Regions from separate parts of the Homo sapiens genome. Here regions 2, 3 and 4 are each linked to region 1. The links are contacts of gene promoters, found by promoter capture Hi-C in human tissues and cell types (Jung and others, 2019). All regions are on one chromosome and are shown on one strand. The core of a region is centred on a gene start or on the middle of the fragment in contact, and the rest is flanking DNA. Distances in the headings are between cores, read along the strand shown.

Region 1 (2,700 bases), core at 90-2,589:
CCTAGTGCCTCACACACTGTACCCAGTAACTACTAATATTATTATCCCCTAGGATTATTATTACTCCTAGTATTGAAGACATGTTACTTTAATCACCTGAGTGCCTTTCTCTCCATTGCTCTGTATTTTTATTTTATTTATTTATTTATTTTTTTGAGACAGAGTCTCGCTCTGTCACCCATGCCGGAATGCAGTGGCAGGATCTTGGCTCACAGCAACCTCCACCCAGATTCAAGTGATTCTCCTGCCTCAGCCTCCTGAGTAGCTGCAACTATAGGCGCGGGCCGCCACACCCAGCTAATTTTTGTATTTTTAGTAGAGGCGGGGTTTTGCCATGTTGGCCATGCTGGTCTTGAAGTCCTGGCCTCAGGTGATCCGACCACCTCGGCCTCCCAAAGTGCTGGGATTACAGGTGTAAGCCACAGCGCCTGGCCAGAGACCAGGTCTCTTCAAACAAAAAAACAAACAAAACCCCTAAATATTGACAATGTCATCTGTGGATTCTACCCAGGAAATAACCCACATTAAAATGATGGTTTGTGAGGGTCGGCAGGGGTATAGTGTATTTCATCCAAAAACATAACAAATGTGTGATCCAATTATAATAGCAATTATGGGAAAAGCTGTCGGTGACTGATAAGGAGTTATAAAAGAAAAGACTCAAATTTACACAGGCTTTTCAAAAGATCATAATCCTGCTATTGGAGGTGGAAGTCTTCTAGACACTAACAAGGTGGAGAGAAATCTCCATGTGGAGGCCCAGATTAAACATCTCCCATCAAAGTGGAACTCGTCAAATGTCCTAAGACACCTAAGGCCGTCCCCAGGCGCCCTGACAATAAAAGGTAACCAGAACACGAGAGAAATTACTCTGGGAGTACCTTTCACATTCAAGGTGTGCAGTAGGAAATTTATAAATTGGCATCTGGCTCGTCCATTCATTTCTCATTGGTGTGGTTCACGTGTGCTTGCAAAGGTCAGACTTCTGCCCTTCGAATGTCCTCTCTCCCTCTCCCACAGAAAACACCCACATGTGGGTCCTTGTTTAAAGCAGAAAGTCCTAGTCCTTAGCTTTTAGTGAGGTGGATGTCATCAGGCCTGGGTTGGCATCCTGTTTTTTACCATGGCAAGTCATATGCGCCCTTAAGCATTCCTGCTTTTGGTCCAAGCTTCCTGCGTGGGAATACTGCGGTCCTCCTTTCAGGCAGCTGTGAATGACAAACGGTCGCTGGCTGCCGTGACACCCATTGTCCCGCGAGAGTGCCCTAGCTGGGCCCCAGTGCACTCGAGGCGGTCCCTGCTCGGGTGCCCCTCCCACAGGCAGGCGCCGTTGCCGACCAAACGCCCAGGTTCACCCAACGCCAGAGGCTCGTCCTCAATTCCCGCGAGGCCCCCGGAGGTGCTGGGGTCCCTGCAGGGCCGGGCCACCTGCCGTGGAGCTCAGGCCGCGCCAGAATCGGATCCGGGAAGCTGCGCGCCATGAGCAGCTCCCTGCGGCCGGGCCCCAGCCGCTGGCGGCGGGCGGCCAGCATCGTCCTGGCGGCTGGCTGGTCGCGCCCGGAGACCGCCACCCCGCCGTCGCGCCCGCCGCCGGCCGAGGGCTTCCGGCTGCTGCTGCTGCAGCGCTCCCCGCACCAAGGCTTCATGCCGGGCGCGCACGTCTTCTCCGGCGGAGTGCTGGATGCGGCCGACCGCTCGGCGGACTGGCTGGGCCTCTTCGCGCCGCACCACGGGCCGCCGCGCTTCGGCCTGGGCCCGGCGCCATTCAGCCGCACCGCTTTCCCGTCGCTGCCCGACACCGATGACCACAAGACCGACAACACTGGGACGCTGCCTGAGGACGTAGCCTTCCGCATCTGCGCCGTGCGGGAGGCCTTTGAGGAGGCGGGCGTGCTGCTGCTGCGGCCCAGGACTTCCCCACCAGGCCCAGCACCCGGGCCTGGCCTCGCCCTGGAGCCACCGCCGGGCCTGGCCTCCTGGCGCGACCGCGTGCGCCAGGACCCGCGCCACTTCCTGCGGCTGTGCGCCCACCTCGACTGCACACCCGACATCTGGGCGCTGCACAACTGGAGCGCCTGGCTCACCCCTTTCTTGCGGGGCACCACTCGCCGCTTTGACACGGCCTTCTTCCTGTGCTGCCTGCGCGAGCCGCCGCCCGTCTACCCCGACTTGGCGGAGGTGGTGGGCTACCAGGTAAGGCCTGCTCAGGGCCTTGCTGCGGACCGCCAGGACGTGAGAGGGAGGACCCCTCCCAGCGGCCCAGGCCCCCAAGGGACCCCCGCATAGGCCAAGCCCAGAGAGATTAAGCAGCAAGGAACGCTTAGACGGGCTGGAAACTCTCACCCCTGTAGACCAAAGCCATGCTCTTGGTGAAGTGCTCTCTGCTTTCCTAGGCTTTGGGGTCTCAAGGCCTGGAGCCTGTCTCTCCACGTGGTTCCTCCAGCGTGGCCACTGTGTAAGCACTTGTACATGTGTAGACATAGTACATCTCCACAGCCGTTTAATTTGGTTTTCTTGGAGAACAGACTTAATATGATCCAGTCTTCCTATTTTTATTTATTTTTGGTACAGATGGGGGTCTTGTCTCTCTGTGTTGCACACCCAGGCTCGTCTCCAGCTCCTGGTGTGTCCAGAATTGGTTCCTTCCAGTGGGTTCTTGGTCTCGCTGACTTTAAGAATAAAGCCGCGGACCCTCGAAGT
Region 2 (2,700 bases), core at 97-2,596, 390 kb after region 1:
AGGTGCCAGGCGCAGTGGCTCACGCCTGTAATACCAGCATTTTGGGAGGCCGAGGCGGGTGGATCACTTGAGGTCAGGAGTTCAAGACCAGCCTGGCCAACATGGTGAAACCCAGTCTCTACTAAAAATACAAAAAAAAAAAAAAAAAAAAAAAAAAATGGCCGGGTGCGGTGGCTCACATCTGTAATCCCAGCACTTTGGGAGGCCAAGGTGGATGGATCGCCTGAGGTGGGGAGTTCGAGACCAGCCTGACCAACATGGACAAACCCCGTCTCTACTAAAAAAAAAATTACAAAATTAGCCAGACATAGTGGTGCATGCCTGTAATCCCACCTACTAGGGAGGCTGAGGCAGGAGAATCGCTTGAACCCGGGAGGCGGAGGTTGAGGTGAGCCGAGATCGTGCCATTGCACTCCAGCCTGGGCAACAAGAGTGAAACTCTGTCTCAAGAAAAAAAAAAAAAAAACCACCACAACAACCAACCAACCAAACAAACAAAAATTTAGCAGGGCGTGGTGGGGTGGACGCTTATAATCCCAGCTATCAGGAGGCTGAGGCAGGAGAATCACTTGAATCTGGGAGGCGGAGGTTGCAGTGAGCTGAGATCGCGGCCACTGCACTCCAGCCTGGGCGACAGAGCGAGACTCTGTCTCAAAAAAAAAAAAAAAAAAAAAGGGAATAACACCAGGGCCTACTTGAGGGTGGACCTACTTGAGGGTGGAAGGTACGAGGAGGGTGAGGATCGGAAAAACTACCTATTGGGTACTATGCTTATTACCTGGGGAGGAAATAATCTGTAACCCAAATCCCTTGCGACATGCAATTTACCTATATAACAAACTTGCACATGTACCCCTGAACCCAAAATAAAAGTAAAAAATAATAATAATAAAAATAAAGCGAAGCCCCACGGGGCGAGCATGAAATCTGGGAGCTCAGCCATTTCCCTGGAGGTGGCTGGGTGGGCGGTGGGAGTGGACGGGGCTGGGCAGTGACTGCTGCCAAGGCAGGGGGCTGGCGCGAGGGACGGGGGTAGGGGGCTGGGCAGGCATCGGTGTCGCCTCGCAGGGAACAGTTGGGTGGCTTCCAGCTTATGCCAGGAGTCTCCTCCTCACCCGCACATCGCGGGGCTAGGATGGGATGTCGTGGCTGCCAAATCCTCCGAGGCAACTCCTGCCTGGGACGGCCTACCACAGGATGGGCCTGAGAATCCGGAGCGCAGGCTCGGGCCGCTAGGACACCTTCCCCCGCCCGCGGACCCAGCCTTCCAGCATCACCGGGGTTCGCGGAGGAGAAAGAGGAAAGGCGTTTGGCCTGCCAAGGCCGCCGTAGCGAGGGGGCGGGGCCCGGAAGAGCAGGATGGCGGCGCGGGACAGTGACAGCGAAGAAGATCTGGTCAGCTATGGGACCGGGCTGGAGCCTCTGGAAGAAGGTGCGGGCCGCGTGGGCCGGCGGAGCCTGTGGAAAACAGGCCAAGGGCCCAGGATTCGGGCCACAAAAGCACAAGTCGGTGCTGGACCATTGTTAGATCGTTCCCAGCGCTGGGAACACGGCGACGAGGGAGGCGTTAGCCGCGCTCTCGGGGTGCTCACCTTCTGCAGCGACAGAGAGAGGTTTACAGGGACGGGAGACACAAGCGTGGCCGAACAAGGGGGCGGCGAGATAGAAACAAGAAAATGACGGAATAGCTAGTGTGAGAGCGGGGGGTGCTCAGGCAGTGTCTTCCCCGAGAGAGGACGTTTGAGCTCAGACTTGAAACCGAGGAAGAAAACAACCATGAGCAAATCTGGAGGGAAAGCATTTCAGGCAGAAGGAACATAAAGTGGCAAAGGCCCTGAAGTGGGAGCCAGTTTAGGAAATTGAGGGGCAGGCAGGACGGGTATGGTTGCAGCAGATGACAGCGGGGGAGACAGGTAGAAAAGAATGTCAGAGGGGCTGACAGGGGCTGGATCTTACTTGGTAGGGTAAAGAGTTTGGATCTTGTACTAAGTGCAGGATTAGGGTTAGGGTTAGGGTCATGGGAAATTACACAGGGAGGGATATATATATGATTTTTAGAGACAGGGTTTTGCTCTGTTTCCCAGGCTGGTCTTGAACTCCTGACTTCAAGTGATCCTCTCGCTTCTGCCTCCCAAAGTGCAGGGATTACAGGCTTGAGCCACTGTGCTCGGCCAATTTTTAATGTTATTCTATCTTTGATGTTGAGAATACACTGGTTGGGGATGGGTAAGAGTGAAGCAGGGAGATTAGCAAAAAGAGGTCAGGAGATGATGGTGGCATGGATGGGACAGCAGTGGTGGTGGTGTGTAGTGGTCTGGGTGGAGATATATTTTGAAAGCAGAGCTGACCATACTTGCTGGTGGAATGTGGGGGTGAGGGGCAAGATGAATCAAGGTTCTCTCCTGTGTTTCTGGTCTGTTCCACTTAACGACTTGACTTGTTCAGCAAGTTATGTATTGAGTGTCCAGTAAGGGCTGTTGGCTGTGCTAGCCCTGTAGGGAAGGCAGAGGAAGAATGGTGGAATCATTGGGCCACAATTTATTTGCAGACCTCCTGTTGGTGGGGGTCCCCTCCCTTTTTTCACCCTGACCACATCCTGCCAGGTTGATTGTACTTCTGGGATATCTCCACTTATGCCCCCTTTATTTCCTACAAACAGTTCTGGTGGAAACTTCTGCTGGATACTGGCCCTTCTTCTAC
Region 3 (2,700 bases), core at 102-2,601, 260 kb after region 1:
GGCTCACTGCAAGCTCCGCCTCGTGGGTTCACGCCATTCTCCTGCCTCAGCCTAGTGAGTAGCTGGGACTACAGGTGCCCACCACCGCGCCTGGCTAATTTTTTTTTTTGTATTTTTAGTACAGATGGGGTTTCACCCTGTTAGCCACGGTGGTCTCGATCTCCTGACCTCGTGATCCGCCCGCCTCGGCCTCCCAAAGTGCTGGGATTACAGGCGTGAGCCACTGTGCCCGGCCAGTATCATGTATTAAATGCACTGCCTCCAAGTCCTTACCATAAATGTGGGATACTACAAAGTACACAGAAGCTAAAAGATTAAATTTTCCACCGTCCCATCTCTTTGTACACTTGGCATATCCTTCTAGTTTCTGTTTTTAGAGTTACTGCATACATATACAATTTGTCTTGTTATGAATAAGGGTTTTTTGTTTTTTTGTTTTTTTTTTGAGACAGGGTCTCACTCTGTCTCCCAGGCTGGAGTGAAGTGGTGCAATCATGGTTCACTGTAGCCTCAATCTCTCTGGGCTCAGGTGATCCTCCAGTCTCAGCCTCCCAATAGCTGGGACTAACCAAGCCCAGCTAGTTTTTGTATTTTTTGTAGAGACGGGGTTTCACCATGTTGTCCAGGCTGGTCTTGAACTCCTTGGCTCAAGGGATCCGCCTGCCTCAGCCTCCTAAAGTGCTAGGATTACAGGCATGAGCCACTGAGCCCAGCCTGTTGTTATTATTATTGTTATTATTATTTTGAGACAGAGTCTCACTCTGTCACCCAGGATGGAGTATAGTAGTGCAATCTTGGCTTACTGCAACCTCTGCCTCCCGGGTTCAAGTGATTCTCCTGCCTCAGCCTCCTGAGTAGCTGGGATTACAGGCACTCGCCACCACACCTGGCTAATTTTTCTATTTTTAGTAGAGATGGGGTTTCACCATGTTGGCCAGGATGGTCTCAAACTCCTGACCTCAAATGATCTGCACACCTCGGCCTCCCAAAGTGCTGGGATTACAGGCCTGAGCCACCATGCCTGGCCCCAGCCTGCTATTAATAAGTATTTTTATTTTTTAAATTGAGACAGGGTCTCATTCTGCCACACAGGCTGGAATGCAGAGGTGCAATCTTGGCTTACTGCAGCATCCACCTCCCCAGCTCAAGTGATCCTCCTACCTCAGCCTCCCGAGTAGCTGGGACTAGAGATGCACTCCACCATACCCAGCTAATTTTTTGTTTGTTTGTTTATTTGTATTTTTAGTAGAGAAGGGGTTTCACCATGTTGCCCAGGCTGGTCTCAAACTCCAGAGCTGAAGAGATCCACCCACCTCAACCTCCCAAAGTGTTGGGATTACAGGTATGATCCACTGTCCCCAGCCTATTAATGAGTTTTTATAGTCAACATTTTAAAAGGTAGGAATCCACTAGATATACCAGCTTAACCAGCCATTTTCCTTGCTTAGGTGGGGTTTTTTTCCTTCACTTTCCATTGTTGTAGATAACCCTGTAATAAACATCTGTGTGCAGATAACCCCTACTGTATTTAAGGTTACTCACATAAAACAAACCGCCATAGAGTAAATTCTTTTTTTCTTTATCTTTTTTATTTGAGATGGAGTCTCGCTCTGTCACCCAGGCTGGAGTGTGGTGGCGCGATCTCAGTGCACTGCCACCTCCGCTTCCCGCGTTCAAGTGATTCTCCTGCCTCAGCCTCCCGAGTAGCTGGGACTACAGGCGCCTGCCACCATGCCTGGCTAATTTTTGTATTTTTAGTAGACATGGGGTTTCACCACATTGGCCAGGCTGGTCTTGAACTCCTGACCTCAAGTGATACGCCCGCCTCAGCCTCAAAAAGTGCTGAGGTTACAGGCGTGAGCCACTGTGTCCGGCCCATACAGTAAATTCTTGAGTCAAATGGTGTGAACATTTTGTGTCTACATACATACTGCACAAAATCATTTCTCCAAGCTATAAATACACTGGTAATAATTTTCTAAAACTTGCCAAAACAACTTAAAACCCACTGTCTAAATTTGCATTTGTTACTGAGACTGAATGTTTTTCCATATACTTGTGTTCAGGTCCTTTGTCTGTTTTACTTCTGGTATGTCCATTCCAATTTGGTTCTTTTTTTTTTTTTTTTTTTTTTTTGAGATGGAGTCTCGCTCTGTCCCCCAGGCTGGAGTGCAGTGGCTCCATCTTGGCTCACTGCAAGCTCCACCTCCCGGGTTCACGCCATTCTCCTGCCTCAGCCTCCTGAGTAGCTGGGACTACAGGCGCCCGCCACCACGCCAGCTAATTTTTTGTATTTTTAGTAAAGACAGGGTTTCACCATGTTGGCCAGGATGGTCTCGATCTGCTGACCTCGTGATCCGTCCATCTCGGCCTCCCAAAATGCTGGGATTACAGGCGTGAGCCACCGCACCCGGCCTGTTTTTTCTTTTTTTATTTTTGTTTTTTTTTTTGAGACAGGGTCTCACTCTGTCATCCAGGGTGGAGTGAAGTGACAAGATCATACTGCAACTTTGACCTCCTGGGCTCAAGTGATCCTCCTGCCTCAGCCTCCCAAGCAGCTGGGACTACAGGTGAGCAACACCATGCCAGGATGATTTTTGTATTTTTTTGTAGAGATGGGGGTCTCACTTTGTTGCCCAGGCTGGTCTCAAACTCCTGATCTCAAGCAGTCCTCCCACCTCAGCCTCTCAAAGTGCTGGG
Region 4 (2,700 bases), core at 66-2,565, 330 kb before region 1:
AATAAGTCTTCAGTCCAGAAACAATATAGATGTGATGTGTGTGATTATACAAGTACAACATATGTTGGTGTCAGAAACCACAGGCGAATCCATAACTCTGATAAGCCGTACAGGTAAGTGTTATGATTCTAGAATTTTAATGTTTGTATTAAAATATTTTATATTAAAGAAATAAAATGAAATAAAAATGTATAGCACTTACTGAAACACAGGTTAAGAAGTAAGAAATTTTCACTAATTGGTTTTATATTTTGTTGTTTTATATATTTACTTATTTATTTTTTGAGTCAGTGTCTTGCTGTATTGCCCAGGCTGGAGTGCAGTGGTATGATCACAGCTCACTGCAGCCTCGAACTCCTGGCCTCAAGGGATCCTCCCACATCAGCCTCCCAAAGTGCTGGGATTGCAGGCGTGAGCCACTGCACCTGGCTGGTATTATGTCTTGTTTGATTTGTTAAGATGTGAACTTTAAGCTTGAATCTTAGGACAGTAGGCATTTTGTCTAGTTGATACATAGGAAATTGTCTTTATCTGTCAATTTTATGTTTTCATTTCATATGGGTATAAATTTCATAGCAATTTTCAATGCCTTAGAGTTCATTTCAGTAATTTGGCAGTAAGGTACTCAGTATTCAGCAAAAGATCCTTAAAACTTAAAGGCAATAAAATTTTCTATGAAAGAGTCCATTTTTCAAAATTAAGCTAGTATGTGTAGAATAAGTCATTTAATTTCATTACTTGATTTTTCCCAAAAGCAAATTCAGATATATATTTCAGAAAATATAGGCATTCTCAGTGATAGTGCTAGGCAATGCGCATGAACTTTCACCCCCTTGTCAAAACTTAGCAGGTTTAACTCTCTCCCCAGATTCTGTAGATATGATACAAGTGAGTGTGGGAAAGTTATTGTATTAATCTCAATGAAAACCTGACAGATTGTGCCATAAAAGGTCATTGTTTAATCCCAAAGTGTGGTGATCTGTGTATGGTTTCGAATATTTAATATGTGCTTAATTTGCAAACCAGCAGACTTACTTATAATCACTCTTCAGAAAGTACATCTGTTTGCAGAGTCTTAAAACTCTGTGGAAGGTGTTTGACCTTGCCTCAGTCCTCCTCAGTGTCTTCCTTCCTTCCTTCTTTCCTTCCTTCCTTCTTTTCTTCCTTCCTTCCTTTCCTTCCTTCCTTTCCTTCCTTTCCTTCCTTCCTTTCCTTTCTTCCTTTCCTTCCTTTCCTTTCCTTCCTTTCCTTTTCTTCCCTCCCTCCCTCTCTCCCTCCCTCCTTCCTTCCTTTCCTTCCTTCGTTTCCTTCCTTCCTTTCCTTTCTTCCTTTCCTTTCTTCCTTTCCTTCCTTCCTTTCCTTCCTTTCCTTTCCCTCCCCTCCCTCCCTCCCTCCCTCCTTCCTTCCTTCCTTCCTTCCTTTTTTTCTTTGACAGAGTCTCGCTCTGTCATCACCCAGGCTGGAGTGCAGTGGAGTGATCTCACCTCACGGCAACCTCCGCCTCCCGGGTTCAAGTGATTCTCATGCCTCAGCCTCCCAAGTAGCTGGGACCACAGGCATGTGCCATGATTAGCTAATTAGAGACGGGGTTTCGCCAGGTCTTGAACTCCTGGCCTCAAGTGTCCGCCCACCTTGGCCTCCCAAAGTGCTGGGATTACATGGTTACACCATGTCCAATCAGTCTATTTAATAGGTGGGACTGAGTATATTTACATTCGTGATTTATACTGGGAAATGTTTAGGAGAATGTGATGGAAACAGGGAACACTAGTTTACCTGATAGGAGGAGAAAGCTTTGCCTTTATATTTTTGGTATCCTTGAATTTAGACATACCGTGCCAGATTCATGTGATTTAAGTAAGAAGAAAATAACATTTCTCCGGGTCCAGAATTAGATTGTTCTTTCATTCATGGAGAAATATTTATTGAGCAAATATTATGCTTCAGGGGCCGTGCTAGATTCTTGGACTACAGTCATAACAAAACAGACGTCATCTTTGCTGTCATGGAACTTGTAGACAAACAATAAGCAAGTAAACCCTCAAATACTTAGGAAAAAGGTTAGCGATTCTAGTTCTGTTGAAGGTTTTACATCTGCTTTATTAGATCAGTCTTGCAGCTTAAAGATTCATTTTGATAGCTGTCAGTGTCTCAGGGATGTTTTCTTGTGTTCTTAAAATATTCACAGATTCATAGGATTCATTGCAGTTGTCCTAGGGTCTTCCTACCAACGGGCAACATCCCGTGAGCATCCTCTTTGTGTAACATCAGAGAACTCTCAGTCTGTTATTTTCCAAATTTATTCACACTCCACTTTGTCACTGGGTTTGGTGTGGTTATGCCTTAGATACAGTTTTGTCATATCTCCCTCTTTGTACTTATTATCAGTTTTTCCTCATAAGTCTTATTTTCTAATGTCATGGCTCTCCTTTTAACTTTCTTTAAATACTCACCATCCTTTGCCTTCATGGGATTTCTGGTCGCAGAGCATTACGGATTAACATGTTCTATTCCAGGATGTTTCTAGGACTTTCTCCTCGTTGTCCTATACTGTGTGCTTTAAGCGGAGCTGGTAGCGTAGCCTTTATAATGTCTGACTTAATTCAAGGATCACAGGAGTTTCTCTGGCTCATTTCATGTCTGCTTCATTCAGTTTCGTTGCCTGGTGCACTTATGGTCAGAGTTTGGGCTTGGTTTCTC

What was found. The method cuts DNA at HindIII sites, captures the fragments that hold promoters and counts their contacts. A contact is called where the count stands out against the background at its distance.
Region 2: a contact is called between the fragment with the promoter of GPATCH1 here and the fragment with the promoter of NUDT19 in region 1, in 4 of the 25 tissues and cell types used here (H1 embryonic stem cells, heart left ventricle, mesendoderm cells and 1 more).
Region 3: a contact is called between a fragment that was not itself captured here and the fragment with the promoter of NUDT19 in region 1, in 1 of the 25 tissues and cell types used here (H1 embryonic stem cells).
Region 4: a contact is called between a fragment that was not itself captured here and the fragment with the promoter of NUDT19 in region 1, in 1 of the 25 tissues and cell types used here (dorsolateral prefrontal cortex).

The regions. Positions count from the first base shown.
Region 1 is chr19:32,690,482-32,693,181 of GRCh38, forward strand. It overlaps NUDT19 (nudix hydrolase 19), which reads left to right and starts at 1,340. Exons shown (of 3, transcript NM_001105570.2): 1 at 1,340-2,193. The coding sequence starts at 1,480. It overlaps NUDT19-DT (NUDT19 divergent transcript), which reads right to left and starts at 1,815. Exons shown (of 2, transcript NR_186320.1): 1 at 882-1,815. LOC124904690 (a long non-coding RNA gene) reads right to left here. Exons shown (of 2, transcript XR_007067226.1): 2 at 2,484-2,700. RefSeq lists a silencer at 1,303-1,712. The HindIII fragment of the contact is 18,784 bases long and covers 1-2,700 here.
Region 2 is chr19:33,079,835-33,082,534 of GRCh38, forward strand. GPATCH1 (G-patch domain containing 1) reads left to right here and starts at 1,347. Exons shown (of 20, transcript NM_018025.3): 1 at 1,347-1,432. The coding sequence starts at 1,360. RefSeq lists an enhancer at 1,242-1,571. The HindIII fragment of the contact is 22,582 bases long and covers 1-2,700 here.
Region 3 is chr19:32,953,938-32,956,637 of GRCh38, forward strand. All of the region lies in intron 3 of CEP89 (centrosomal protein 89), which reads right to left. Among named protein-coding and RNA genes, the nearest start is that of CEP89, 17 kb to the right of the region's middle. The HindIII fragment of the contact is 8,520 bases long and covers 1-2,700 here.
Region 4 is chr19:32,360,506-32,363,205 of GRCh38, forward strand. ZNF507 (zinc finger protein 507) reads left to right here. Exons shown (of 7, transcript NM_001136156.2): 5 at 1-113. Among named protein-coding and RNA genes, the nearest start is that of ZNF507, 16 kb to the left of the region's middle. The HindIII fragment of the contact is 4,607 bases long and covers 1-2,700 here.